2 separate regions of the Homo sapiens genome follow, and region 2 is linked to region 1. Evidence: promoter capture Hi-C in 16 types of primary human blood cells and fetal thymus (Javierre and others, 2016). All regions are on one chromosome and are shown on one strand. The core of a region is centred on a gene start or on the middle of the fragment in contact, and the rest is flanking DNA. Distances in the headings are between cores, read along the strand shown. Region 1 holds the start of WIPI2 (WD repeat domain, phosphoinositide interacting 2). Region 2 overlaps RNF216 (ring finger protein 216).

Region 1 (7,291 bases), core at 2,551-5,050:
CCCAGCACTTTGGGAGGCCAAGGCGGGCAGATCACGAGATCAGGAGATTGAGATCATCCTGGCCAACACAGTGAAACCTCATCTCTACTAAAACACAAAAAATTAGCCTGGTGTGGTGGCACACGCCTGTAGTCCCAGCTACTTGGGAGGCTGAGGCAGGGGAATCGCTTGAACCCTAGAAGCAGAGGTTGCAGTGAGCCGAGATCGCACCACTGCACTCCAGCCTGGTGACAGAGCAAGACTCCGTCTCAAAAAAAAAAAAAAAAAAAAAAAAAAAAAAAATATATATATATATATATATATATATATATATATATAAAATAAATATATGTATCTCTAAATCTTGCCTTTTCTTCCTCTCTTAATGGTCTCTTGAAAATAGCCCATTCTTCTCAATGTTGATGAAGGCCAATCTCTCATTTTGTGGTTACTACTTTTTTTCTTTTGAGACAGAGTCTCGCTCTGTCACCCAGGCTGGAGTGCAGTGGTGCGATCTCAGCTCACTGCAACCTCCACCTCCCGGGTTCACGCCATTCTCCTGCCTCAGCCTCTTGAGTAGCTGGGACCACAGGCACCAGCCACCACACCCGGCTAATTTTTTGTATTTTTAGTAGAGACGGGGTTTCGCCATGTCAGCCAGGATGGTCTCGATCTCCTGACCTCGTGATCTGCCTGTCTTGGCCTCCCAACATGCTGGATTACAGGCGTGAGCCACCGCGCCCGGCCTGTGGTTACTACTTTTTAAAGAACTTGTTTTGTTTTGAGACAGGATCTTGCTCTGTCACCCAGGCTGGAGTGTAGTGGCGCGGTCATAGCTCACTGCAGGCTTGAACTCCCAGGCTCAAGCCATCCTCCCGCCTTAGCCTCTGAAGGAGCTGGGACCACAGGCGCACACCACCACGCCCAGCTAATTTTTGTATTTTTGTAGAGACCGGGTTTCCCCATGTTGCCTAGTCTGGTTTCAAACTCCTGGACTCAAGCAATCCGCCTGCCTCAGCCTCCCAAAGTGTTGGGATTACAGGCATGAGCCAACACATCCGCTTTAAAGTACCTGTTTAGACTACTTTGTTTATCCCAAAATCATGAAGGCATTCTCGTTTCCTTCTAGAAATTCTATTGTTTTTACCTCTCACATCTAGGACTGTAATCCATCTCAAATTAATTTTTGAATATGGTGTGAGGTAGGGGTACTTATTCCTTTTATTGAAAAGACCATCCTTTCCTCAATGATTTCCAATGCGTTCTTGACCCTATAATTAGAATTAACTTCTGTAAGCACTCATTAGATCGTTCCACTTTCCTGCCTGTCTTTAACGGCAGACCATTGCTCTTATGGACAATAATCAGATAATGGTCAGTTCCTTGCGTAACAATACGCAGCTTGATCTGGCCACCTCCTGTCTCTCCTGCCAAATCTTGCCTTGTGTCTGCCTTTCCACTCTGAACATAGAGTTCTTTGGACAGGTCACACCCTCATCCTCAAGCCCTTCCCATATAGAGTGTTTTCATGCCCTTAGACTAGTTACTCAAACTTCAGGTCTCATCTCTTCCAGGAGCCTTCTCAATAGCACAGTCCCTGTCCCTTAAATATAGGTTGTGTGACTTCTATATATGCATTCATGGTCAGGCACAGTGGCTCATGCCTGTAATCCCAGCACTTTGGGAGGCCGAGGCAGGCAGATTACCTGAGGTCGGAAGTTCGAGACCAGCGTGACCAACATGGAGAAATCCCGTCTCCACTAAACATACAAAAATTAACTGGGCGTGATGGTGCACACCTGTAATCCCAGCTACTCGGGAGGCTGAGGCAGGAGAATCACTTGAACCCGGAAGGTGGACGTTGCAGTGAGCCGAGATTGCGCCATCGCACTCCAGCCTGGTCAAGAAGGTGAAATTCCGTCTCAAAAAAAAAAAAAAAAAAAAAAAAAATATATATATATATATATATATATATATATTCGCTCATTGTACCCCCGAGTTTCTAATTATATTTATTTATTTTATTTTTTGAGATGGAGTCTCACTGTGTCGCCCAGGCTGGAGTGCAGTGGCATGATCTCGGCTCACTGCAGCCTTCACCTCCTGGGTTCAAGCAATTCTCCCATCTCAGTCTCCTGAGTAGCTGGGATTACAGGGCCGTGCCACCACAACTGGCTAATATTTTACATTTTTCCTAGAGACAGGGTTTCACCATGTTGGGCAGGCTAGTCTCAAACTCATGACCTCAGGTGATCCACCTGCCTCAGCCTCCCAAAGTGCTGGGGTTACAGGCGTGAGTCACCATGCCCAGCCTATTTTATTTTACTTTTTAGATGGAGTCTCACTCTGTCGTCCGTCCAGGCTGGAGTGCAGAGGTGCAATCTCGGCTCACTGCAACCTCCACCTGTGGGGCTCAAGCAATTCTCCCACCTCAGCCTCCCTAGTAGCTGAGATTACAGGTGCCCACCACCATACCCAGCTAACTTTTGTACTTTTAGTAGAGACGGGGTTTCACCATGTTAGCCAGGCTGGTCTGGAACTCCCGACCTCAGGTGATCCACCCGCCTCAGCCTCCCAAAGTGCTGGGATTACAGGTAAGAGCCACCACACCTGGCCTTCTATTTATATTTAAATATCTCCCCATTATAACTTCTCTGAGGGAAAGGAGGAGGCCTATTTAGTTCACATGAGAGGTGCGTCCTAAATACTGTTGAATGAATGAATAAATTTAAGGGACGATTCTGTCCCAGGAACCCAGACAGTATGGACCTTGGAGAAACAGGACGTTTCCAGTCTCAGATCTAGCACTTGGCTAATAATTATTTCTGAGCCTCGATTTTCAAATCTGTAAAATTAAGATATACTATTCTCTACTTAGGATTGTAATGGGCATCAAATAAGATAATGTGGCTGGGCACAGTGGCTCACATCTGTAATCCCAGTACTTTGGGAGGCCGAGGTGGGAGCATCACTTGAGGCCAGGAGTGCGAGACCAGCCTAGGCAACAGAGTAAGACCCCCCCCGCCCCCACCCCATCTCTACAAAAAACTTAAAAGTTAGCAGGGTGTGGTGGCATGCATTTGTGGTCCCAGCTACTTGGGAGGCTAAGGTGGGAGGATCGCTTGAGCCTGAGTTTGAGGCTGCAGTGAGCTGTGATTGAGCCTCTGCACTCCAGCCTAGGCAACAGAGCGAGACCTTGTCTTTCAAAATAATAAAATGATAAGGTAATGCGCAGAAGCATTCAGCACAGTGATTGGCACATGGAGGGCCCATTGGGGTGTTTTTGTTTTTGTTTTTGTTGTTGTTTGAGACAGAGTCTCGCTCTATGGCCCAGGCTGGATGGATTGCAGTGGCATGATCTCGGCTCACTGCAATCTCCGCCTCCTGGGTTCAAGCGATTATCTTGCCTCAGCCTCCCGAGTAGCTGGGATTACAGGCGTACACCACCAAGCCCGGCTAATTTTTCTTGTATTTTTAGTAGAGACGGGGTTTCACCATGTTGGCCAGGCTGGTCTCGAACTTCTGATCTTAGGTGATCCGCCCGCCTTGGCCTCCCAAAATGCTGGGATTACAGGCCACCGTGCCTGGCCATTGAGTGTTATTAAGAGGAGGGTACGCAGAAAACAGACTCCCGCCAGCTCTGCCCCATGCGCATGAGCGGCCGCCGCTCGCCCTCAGCCAGGCCCAGCGCGCCCCGACGCGTCCCCACGCCTGCGTGATCCACCGGAACCCAAGCCCAGGCAGGCGGTGAGAGGGCGGGGCCTCCGCAGTGCGACTGCGCCGCTCGAGGCCGTGCGTCGCGGGGGCGGGGCCGCGCAGGCGTACCGGGTGCCCCGGCTCTGGAGCATAAACAAGAGCGGGGACGGGATGAGGCGGCGGTTGATCCCAGGGTGGCGAGTGGCGGCGACCGAGGCGGCGAGCGGGGCCCGGCGCCGACCCTGAGTGCAGCCTGACCCGCCCTCGCGCGCGCGCCCTCCCCGGCCGGGCCCACTCGCCGCGCGCCCAGCCATGAACCTGGCGAGCCAGAGCGGGGAGGCCGGCGCCGGCCAGCTGCTCTTCGCCAACTTCAACCAGGACAACACGTAAGGCCGGGGTCGGGGGTCGGAGTCGGGGTGAGGCCAGGGTCGGACCCGGGCTAGGGGGAGGGCCTCGCTGCCAAGCTCGGCGGCGTCGCAGGCTCGGCCTCCCCGCGGGCCAAGGCGCGCAGAGGCGTCCCCAGGGGCGGGCCCGGGGCGTGCAGGGAGGGGCGCCCTCCAGGGAGACCCTCGGGTGCTGGCCTGGAGCTGCGGTCCCGGAGCGGGAGAGGTGGTGGAGAGGGGGCTGCTTTCACCCTCTTGCGGGGAGGCCCCCTGGCTTCAGACTTAACTACTTCTCGCAAAGTTGGGGCCGAACTTTGGGGCTTGACTTGTCTTGGCCGCCTGTGGAGCGCTGGGTGTGGGTCGCTTCCTCTCCTCTCGTCTCCTCTTCCCGCTGCTTGCTCAGCGTCTCCCACTCACTCTCCTTTGAATCAGGCCCTTCTCCTTGTCTTTTCATCGTCTTAAGACCCTTCTCTCTCTCTTGATTTTCTTTTCTTCGTTTCTCACTGTTTTTTTGTTTGTTTTTGTTTTTTGGGGTTTGTTTTGTTTTGAGACAGAGTCTTGCTCTGTTGCCCAGGCTGGAGTGCAGTGGTGCCATCTCAGCTCACTGCAACCTCCGCCTCCTGGGTTCAAGCGATTCTCCTGCCTCAGCCTCCCGAGTAGCTGAGACTACAGGCACGCGCCACTGTGCCCAGCTAACTTTTTTGTATTTGTAGTAGAGACAGGGTTTCACCATGTTGGTCAGGCTGGTCTCAAATTCCTGACCTCAAGTGATCCGCCCACCTCAGCCTCCCAAAGTGCTGGGATTACAGGTGTGAGCCACCGTGCGCGGCCCTCCCTGTTCTTTTTGGGACATCAACTTTGATGTCTTCTCCAGCAAGTAACAAACTTAGCAATAACCTTGGCATCTGACCTAGCTAGGGAGAAACTGAGCCAAGAGAGGCGTTACGGACCAGTGCCCCAGGAGTCTCAGAGCTCCAGCGGGTGGGTCATCCTCAGGGCAAGAGAAGGCCTTAATGCCAGCCCGTGCATTCGGAACGCTGTTTGTCCCCACTGATACGGGTTGGATGCTGCCTGGGAGGAGGACTTGTGGGGATGGTTAATAGATGAGCGAGCTTTCTGGAGAGAGAAGGGTGAGTTATGGGGTTGGCAGGGAGGAGAGCCATCTTGGAAGTGAGTAAGAGGAAGTGAGGAAAGAGAAGGAGTGGGGCATTTGGCATCTTACTAAGTCATTGGTTGAGTTGTTACTGGCTGAGTGGAATTAACATAGCAGAAGGTAAGATTCTTTAGGAAATTAAAAGTGAATTGTAGAATGGACAACACTCAGTGGGTGGTGTACAGCAGGCACTCAATAGCACCTCCCCAAAGCTGTGAAGACAGTCGCACAGTGGGACTGTATTGAGAGTCGGAAGGGGCAAATCACCTCATCCAACTACAGATGAGGAAATCCTTCCGAAAGGCTCCAAGCTGGTCTGGGTTTTGGAATTGGTTAATAGTGGAGCGGGGGCAGGAGTGGAATCTCGCCTCCTGAGCTCTCTTCCAATGTTCTTTCTGCTCTGCCATGCTGTTTTTTTTTCTGTTTACAGAGTAGAATTCTGAAGACAGTGAATTTAGAAATAATAGCATAACAACGTGTAAAGATGAAAACTCCCAAGTACTGTAGCGTTCTGTGTGACCAAAAGCCAGAACAACAAACAATTCGGACAACCTGTTGCAGTTCAAGTGGAATAGACTATGTTAATCCAGATAGGGAAAAGGACACATCCCAAACCAATTCTAATTTGGTTTTTAAGCCCAAGGCCACAGTATTTTGAGACCAGTAAGAAATGGTAGTAGTAGTAGGGTGGTTTATGCCTTGTATAAATTAGAGAGTTTCCAAAACATTGTCGGCCACTCTTTCAGTTTTTCACTAATTATTTCTATCAGAATGAAATCAAATAGAGAAAAGCATTCTCTTTTACTGTTACTTCAGCTGGACTGCCATGTTCCCTGTGTCACAGAAGAGTGTCACTCTGGCCTGAAATAGGACCTTTTCACACTTGGACATTTTCACACTTACCCACTTCTCCATGCTCCCCGAAGTTATTACAGTTCAAGAGATTTCTGTTACTTTGAGATTTCATAACTTTGACTTGCCAGAGAGACCTTGATGTAGTGTAAACCTAAATTGGAATGAATAGTAAGCTAGGATTATACTAGAAGTTGACTGGGCTAAAATGACGGTAATTTGTTTTAAATCTACACTTGAAAGAAATAGAGAAGTTCCCGGAGAGAGCTTTTATGGCTTATACCTTTTCCTCCCTTCTTAATCTCCAGAATTTATTGAGGAGCACAATTTTTAGCAAGTGAAAGAATGACCGTCTAGAACTCACATTTACTGTATGCAGTGAGAAAATTTGGAAGCCAGTTCACTTACTAGAATATATATGTTATAGGGTCATTTCCCTTTTTTTTGTCTTTTAAATTCTTTTTGTATTTGTTACATACCAAACTATAACTGTCCTGCCTTTCTTTACTGGTAATATGATTTCCAATGTCGTACTTTTTCATGATTCCTATCCTAAAAGTGTGCATAAGTTTTATTTGTTTTTTACCATTTGTTTTTTGTTTTGTTTTGTTTTTTTACCTAGAGAAGTGAAAGGGGCATCAAGAGCAGCTGGTCTTGGCCGTCGCGCTGTTGTCTGGTTAGTTCCAACCCTGGTTTCTGAAAGTATCACCTTGGAAGGCTTATGTTAGAGGACTTTTTTGGCTTTTTGAAATTGCAGTGAACCAGTTAATAAGTGGGAGAGGATCACTTGAATCTGAAATGGAAATATCAAGGACTACATTTTTCCAGTGGATACCACAGCTTGTGGGAAGTTAGTGATGTAGCAATGTCTGTTTTAAATGCCATGTCTAAAAGGGATGGAATGAAGAAAGGGACTTGACTTTCCAAGTCTTGTGTTTGTAGAATTGATGTTATGAAGTGTGTGGAGACAACAGGAGAAACCTGTTGTTTTCTTCCACCATGTCTCTTCTAGGTTATGCTTATTGTGCTGGGAAGGTACTGCTCTCCTCTCTTTGTTCATCTGTAAATCAAGGGTTTGGGTTTTTGTTTTTGAGATGGAGTCTCACTGTTGCACAGTTTGAAGTGCAGTGGCATAGTTATAATGATCATAGCTTACTGCAACTTTGAGTTCCTGGGCTCAAGCGGTCCTCCTGCCTCAGCCTCCCGAGAAACCGGGACTACAGGCGTA
Region 2 (7,291 bases), core at 2,160-4,659, 480 kb after region 1:
AACATTTTGCCTAAGAATATCTCTTCTCCTCTGGCAACACCTACTCACCAGTTCTCCTTTCAAATACCAGTGGCTTGGGAAACCCAAATGACCCGGGAAGAGCTGGCACTTGCTCACTGGGCTCCCACAGCACTTAGCTTATGCGTTGTTACTGCACTTTTAGTGGCGTCTTGTAATTATCTGATTATGTCACATCTTTTCCAAATGCCAGGCGCTCCTTGCGGCAAAGATGACGTCCTGCTGGTCACTATGGACAGGCTTGGCATGGAGGGCTCAATTCATCCAATAAAAAAAAGTTCACTTGGCCAGGCATGGTGGCTTACGCCTGTAATCCCAGCACTTTGGGAGGCCGAGGCAGGTGGATCATGACGTCAGGAGATCGAGACCATCCTGGCTAACACGGTGAAACCCCCGTCTCTACTAAAAACACAAAAACAAATTAGCCAGGTGTGGTGGCGTTCGCCTGTAGTCCCAGCTACTCGGGAGGCTGAGGCAGGAGAATGGCCTGAACCCGGGAGGCGGAGCTTGCAGTGAGCTGAGATTGCGCCACTGCACTCCAGTCTGGGCGACACAGCGAGACTCCACCTCAGGAAAAAAAAAAAAAAAAAAAAAAGTTCACTTGAGGCCGGGCACAGTGGTTCGTGCCTGTAATCGCAGCACTTTGGGAGGCTGAGGCGGGCAGGTCACGAGGTCAGGAGTTCGAGACCAGCCTGGCCAACATAGTGAACCCTGTCTCTACTAAAAATACAAAAATTAGCCGGGTGTGGTGGCGCACGCCTGTAGTCCCAGCTACTCAGGAGGCTGAGACAGAAGAATCACTTGAACCCAGAAGGCAGAGGGTGCAATGAGCCGAGATCCTGCCACTGTACTCCAGCCTGGGCGACAGAGAGGGAGTCCGTCTCAAAAAAACAAAACAAAACAAAAAAACCCCAAAACAAAAAAAAAGTTCACTTGAGTGCCTATTCTGTGCCACATGGAGATGCGATGGAGATGAAGCCTGGAGAATTCCTGACCTGGAGGGGCTCGTAATCAACCACCGTACATCTCAGGTATCTTTGGATTTCTAGGGCCTAGCACTAGATTTGAGCGGCACAAGGTGCTGAATGTCTGAGCTGGAGGCTGGCAAGACAAAGCACATCTTCTCCATGCAGAGAGTTGTTTTTTTGTACTTTCCATGGGCAAAAAAAGCGTATCTATCTCCTCTCTGAAAGAACATTATTTCCTCCCTATTGGGTCTTATTTATAATTATGCCAAGTATTTTATGAGAAAATGAAATTATTAATATATACGACCCTTTCAGGTTAATTCATTACAGCTTCAGCCTTAAGGATGAGTTACTGTCCTTCCTTTCTTTGCTCCCTAATGTCTTTCCCCAATTTAATGAGTTAAACTACAAACAGCAGTTATTACCAAGCAGCTAATGACCAAATGCTTGCAGATGGTGTGAGAAAGTACTGCATATGTTTCAATTAGGATGTTCTTTGTTGATTTTCTCCTGTAGTTTCAAGACATGGAAGTTGATCTCTCTTCAATCAGGATAAAAGGAGCTCACAAACAGTAGACCCTGAAAATGTGTGCCCAAGAGAACTTCTGGTTTAGAGGGGTCAGGACTGGAAATGCGCATTCTGCCTGTGTCCCAGCCTGGCTCTCCCCAACACCCCCAGGGGCTGTGGAAGGCCAGTTGCCGCCCAAGGGTAGGCTGCACGCTTCCCCCACTGGCCAGCATTCTCCTCTGCACTCCCAGAAACAAGATAATCCAAACTGCCTGGGTCCAGTTCTTAAAGGACACACAAAATTCTTTTTTTTCTTTTTTCTTGAGATGAAGTTTTGCTCTTGTTGCCCAGGCTGGAGTGCAATGGCACAATCTTGGCTCACCGCAACCTCCACCTCCCAGGTTCAAGCAATTCTTCCTGCCACAGCCTCCCAAGTAGCTGGGATTACAGGCGCCCGCCACCAGGCCTGGCTAATTTTTGTATTTTTTAGGAGAGACTGGGTTTCACCACGTTGGCCAGGCTGGTCTTGAACTCCTGACCTCAGGTGATCTGCCCGCCTCGGCCTCCCAAAGTGCTGCGATTACAGGCACGAACCACCGCACCCAGCCAGGACACACAAAATTCTAACATGAATTCTTCTAACAGTGTCTTGTAATGATCTGATTATGTCACATCTAAGAAGCCAAGCTCACCATGCAGGGGATTCCTCTCTATCCTCAAAGTACAGTAAATCATCTCTCAAAGGAAGGAGAACCTTTACATTTCCAAATGCAGAAATTCAAATCTGGGAGTGGCCAAGTGAGAGCTCTGGGAACCATTACAAAGCCTCCCCCACCTCACTCCCTAGTCCTGAGGAAAGGGCTTCTTTGGGGAAGATTTCATGTTGTTCTTAAATATTTTTTGTTTTCATACACACCTCACCTACCATTTCTATGTACAGAACCAGGCTTTGAAAAAAGAAATCTTGAAGTGTTATTTCTGTGGATTAGAAAAGTTCTTTCCCTGAGCCACCAGGATTAGGTGACAAATTGGAATAGAAGCTTTATATGTGGTTTCTGTGCTAATGCTGCCCCCTAGGGATGGAAAGTTACAAGGCACCGAGACACCAGCTTGACTGCTCTGGGAGAGACCACACATAGCTGCCGGCTTTTTACTATACTATGGGGACCAGGGCTTCGAGGACAGAGTGGGAGGGTAAAGTCTTTCTGGAATAAATCAAAGTTCAATTTTATCTTTATCATAGTAACTACAAACAAAACTACCAATTCCCTTAGTTACTCAAATACAGACGACTGTTTCTCTCGAATGGCTGTTTAACAGAATCACCGAGACTATATCAGCAACGCCTAGGCAATGGCATCATGTGGACATTTATATAAAAATTCCAAGACCAAGGCCGGGCGCGGTAGCTCACATCTGTAATCCCAGCACTTTGGGAGGCCGAGACAGGCGGATCCCGAGGTCAGGAGATCGAGACGATCCTGGCTAACACGGTGAAACCCCGTTTCTACTAAAAATACAAAAAAATTAGCCGGGCGTGGTGGCGGGCGCCTGTAGTCCCAGCTACTCGGGAGGCTGAGGCAGGAGAATGGCGTGAACCTGGGAGGCAGAGCTTGCAGTGAGTGGAGATCACGCCACTGCACTCCAGCCTGGGCGACAGAGTGAGACTCCGTCTCAAAAAAAAAAAAAAAAAAAATCCGAAACCAGTATGTGAGCTCCTACTAAGGACTATGGGTCCTGCTCTGCAGTGGGGACACACATTAAGTGTAATATACAGTTAAGACATGATTGTAAGTGCTGAGGAGAAAAAAATAAAGGAAGAATGCACTGGGGTGGAGAGGGGGAAATAGTTCACGATTATAAACTGGTGGTCAGGGAAGGCCTCTCTGCGAAGGTGCATGTAAGTGAAGACTTAAGAAAGGCGAGGGAGAGAGTCTGGTGCTATCTGGGGGAAAGAATTCCAGGCACCAGGAACAGGGAGGAGCAGGGTGGGCAGAGCTGTAAGGTGGAGAGGAGGGTTGGGTTTGCAGGCTGCCTGGGGCCTGAGCCCAGAGTAAACAGATGCTGAAGAAGAGCCTCTGCAATGGCTGTGCATGAGGTTGATTCCCAAAGAACCCCACCTGCAGGGATCCCTTTCACGGGGAGCTCTCAAGCCTTCTGAGCTGCGCCTCTGAAGGTGGGGCCTCTCCCGCCTTCCTGCCGAGCTTCTCACAGCCTGGAAAGGGCAGGAGGGGAGGCTGTGACTAAGCCCCTTCCAAAGGATTTGCTCCCCATAGATGCTCCATACAATACAGGTTGTGGAACCGAAGTTACTACAGCAATGACTTTTTTTTTTTTTTTTTTGAGACAGGGTCTCATTCTGTCACCCAGGCTGGGGTGCAGTCAGTGGTGCCATCATAGCTCACTGGGCTCAAGCCTGGGCTCAAGTGATCCTGCCCCCTCAGTGCCCAGAGTAGCTGTGACCACAGGCACATGCCACCATACCTGGCTAATTTTTTGTACAGACCAGGTCTTGCTATGTTGCTCAGACTGGTCTCAAACTCCTGGGCTCAAAGGATGCACCCGCCTCGGCCTCCCATATGCTGGGATTACAGTTGTGAGGCACTGTGCCTGGCCAGCCATGACTTTTAAACTATAAACTGTGGCCCTATGGTGGGTTGTAAAGTCACTTCAGTAGATTATGACTAGTGGATTTAAAGTTAGAACAAAAATACTAGGGCACATTCCATGTGTCAAGTATTTGTTTTATAAAACTGTTTCTGTTCCACCTATATTTATTTATGTTTGGATGAAGCTTATGGTAATTTATATTTCTTACTATAGGTCACAAACAAAAAAGTTTAAAAGCCATTAATTTAGAATTCATTCAGAATTAAAGTTTCTTTAAAAAGGCACCAAAAGGCTCATTCTCACAATAGGAAGTCCCAAGGATCACTGCCAGGAACTGAAAACCAGCCCCATCTCTAGTTACCCTGGAGGTGACTCTGCTGATAAGGAACAATGCCCGGGAACCAGGGGAACCCCCCAGCCTTCTCCATCCTGCAGGAGCAGGGCCATGCATAGGAAGCAGATCTAATCATTTCAAACTGTCAAATAGAAACACTGTTATCACTTGGGCAGAAACAAGCCAGGCTGACCTTGTCTTTGCTCACTGCTTGGGCTACCTCTGGGCTTCCCAGGGTTTTGCTGGGAATCTTGGCCTGGCAGGAACAGCCAGCAAAACCAGCTCCTGCCTGCTGGAACTCCACTGTCAGCATGCCCTGGAAGAGAGGCTGCAGATTCCAGGAAGCCTCCTTCCAGGTAGGACAAAGACCATCTTGACACTCCTCCTCATGCCCAGGCTGACAACAGCTGGACTTAAAGTCACTGGATCAGATTGGGGAAAGGAGCCACTGGGGTCTGGGCATGGGATGGGAAGGAGGAAGTCGAGGCTTCATCCTGAGTCATTCAGCAGAAGTGCTGGTTCCAGGGTACAGCGCAGCTTCAAGCTGAGCAGGTAACTTCGCGTTGGTATTTTAGGGCGCTGTGTAAAGATGGCAGTAATTCATGTATCCAGGGACAGAAGAATACAAAGCTGTCTGAACTTGGGGTTGACAATACCCCTTTGTGGATATCAGACAGGACATCTTGCAAGGTACTGTTTATATAGCAGGCATAGAAAAGCGGCTGCCCCTGGTAGTTTTTCACATTCTCATAAAAATCAAATCCCTTCTCAGAGTAAATAGCAAAGCGGACTTTTTTTTTTTTTTTTGAGATGGAGTCTCGCTCCGTTGGCCCCGGCTGGAGTGCAGTGGCGCAATCTTGGCTCACTGCAAGCTCCGCCTCCCAGGTTCACACCATTCTCCTGCCTCAGCCTCCCGAGTAGTTGGGACTATAGGCACCCACCACCACGCCCGGCTAATGTTTTGTATTTTTAGTAGAGACGGGGTTTCACCGTGTTAGCCAGGATGGTCTTGATTTCCTGACCTCGTGATCTGCCCGCCTCGGCCTCCCAAAGTGCTGGGATTACAGATGTGAGCCACCGTGCCAGGCCACAAAGCGGACTTTTAATCTTTCCCTCCTTGCTAGTGAAATGTGACAAAAAGGGAAGCCTCTCATGGGGACAGGAGATATGAACTGAGGATGAGGGTCAAAGGAGGGAGGAAAAAAGGGTCAACTCGACACAGAAGAATGATAAAAAGTATAGGTGGGAGACACCCAGAGTGGAGGGCTCAGAAGCAGGGCCAGAGATCCCAGTCCCGAGGAAGAACGCTGTTAGGAAGTAGCCGGGGTCTGCTGTTGCCTGCCCTTCCAGGGCTTCATGCCCTTCATTCTCCTGGTTCACAAGATTTGGGCGTTCTAGTCACGGTGTATCTTCCCCATATCTTTACTACGGGAAATAGTAAAACACTATCTAGTTAGCATACTATCCACCTGATGCCTCTAGATGTGACTACTTTCACACCTTCACTCATCCCCACAGGGCTCTTATCCAGCCGAAATCTAGTCATCTCCCCCAGGAATATGAGCAGGAGCATAAGTGATTTTTAGTTCTGTGGACCTAATATTATAAAGAGCATTAGAGAGTATTTCAACGCAGGCAGGTGGCTACAGATGGCCCCCCTTGGTGGAAACTATCCCACCCAGTCCCGTGCTATGCAGGATGGGCAGGACTGTCTGCACCTGCCAGCCTGAGAGGAATATGGGCGGTCGGGCTCCAGCTATACCTACTAAGCAGAGTTGCATCTGACAAGATCTCTGATTCCGACACATAGTAAAGTTGAGAAGCTCTGACCTCTTTTGATCCAGGTCTTGGTTTTGCTGATCCTCTGATACCTCTATTTAGAAAAGAAATGATGAGATCTTTAGAAGACCAATCTTTGCCACTGGCAATCACAGGGAGGCTGACACACTCATTATCCATTCTTTTCAGTGTGGCTGAAAAGACTGGCAGAGTTTACTCAATGCTTATGAAATCATCACTCCATCTTGCCTCAAGTGAAAGATTATATTGACAGATTTAGCAGTAAGAGACCAAAAGATGCTAGAGAGTGAGGTGAGGGGTCTGTTCATGCTTCTAAATCAAGACCTAAACTTTGTATCAAATCTGCCAGATATCACTGTTGAAACTGAGACTGTGTTGGCCAGGTGCAGTGGTTCACGCCTGTAATCCCAGCACTTTGGGAGGCCAAGGTGGGCGGATCACTTGAGGTCAGGAGTTTTGAGACCAGCCTGGCCAACATGGCAAAACCCCATCTACTAAAAATACAAAAATTAGTCCGACATGGTGTTGTGCACTTGTGATCCAAGCTACTCGGGAGGCCGAGGTAGGAGAATTGCTAGAATCTGGGAGGTGGAGATAACATCGAGCTGAGATCGCACCACTGCACTCCAGCCTGGGCAAGACTCCATCTCAAAAAAAAAGAAAGTAAGTGAGATTGTGGATGGTGCGTTTGGAAATCCTTTTTTTTTTTTTGAGATGGAGTCTCGCTCTGCCACCCATGCTGGAGTGCAGTGGCGCGATCTTGGCTCACTGCAACCTCTGCCTCCCAAGTTCGAGCAATTCTCCTGTCTCAGCCTCCCGATTAGCTGGGATTACAGGCACGCACCACCATGCCCAGCTATTTATTTATTTATTTATTTTTAGTAGAGACGGGGCTTCACCATGTTGGCCAGGCTGGTCTCAAACTCCTGACCTCAAGTGAGGCACCCGCCTCGGCCTCCCAAAGTGCTGGAATTACAGGCGTGAGCTACCGTGCCTGCCCTGGAAATCACTTTCATAAACAACCTGGATGTGAGACTTTCAGGATCCATTTCC

What was found. The method cuts DNA at HindIII sites, captures the fragments that hold promoters and counts their contacts. A CHiCAGO score of 5 or more calls a contact.
Region 2: a fragment that was not itself captured here is called in contact with the fragment with the promoter of WIPI2 in region 1 in 2 of 17 cell types (erythroblasts and fetal thymus); the score reaches 7.6 in erythroblasts.

What each region holds. Positions count from the first base shown.
Region 1 is chr7:5,186,433-5,193,723 of GRCh38, forward strand. WIPI2 (WD repeat domain, phosphoinositide interacting 2) reads left to right here and starts at 3,801. Exons shown (of 13, transcript NM_015610.4): 1 at 3,801-4,061; 2 at 6,686-6,739. The coding sequence starts at 3,988. RefSeq lists silencers at 783-912, 3,586-4,235, 4,246-4,295. The HindIII fragment of the contact is 15,802 bases long and covers 1-7,291 here.
Region 2 is chr7:5,662,996-5,670,286 of GRCh38, forward strand. The region is part of intron 13 of RNF216 (ring finger protein 216); the gene reads right to left. It overlaps RNF216-IT1 (RNF216 intronic transcript 1), which reads right to left. Exons shown (of 3, transcript NR_046834.1): 2 at 3,615-3,709. Among named protein-coding and RNA genes, the nearest start is that of RNF216-IT1, 14 kb to the right of the region's middle. The HindIII fragment of the contact is 1,754 bases long and covers 2,533-4,286 here.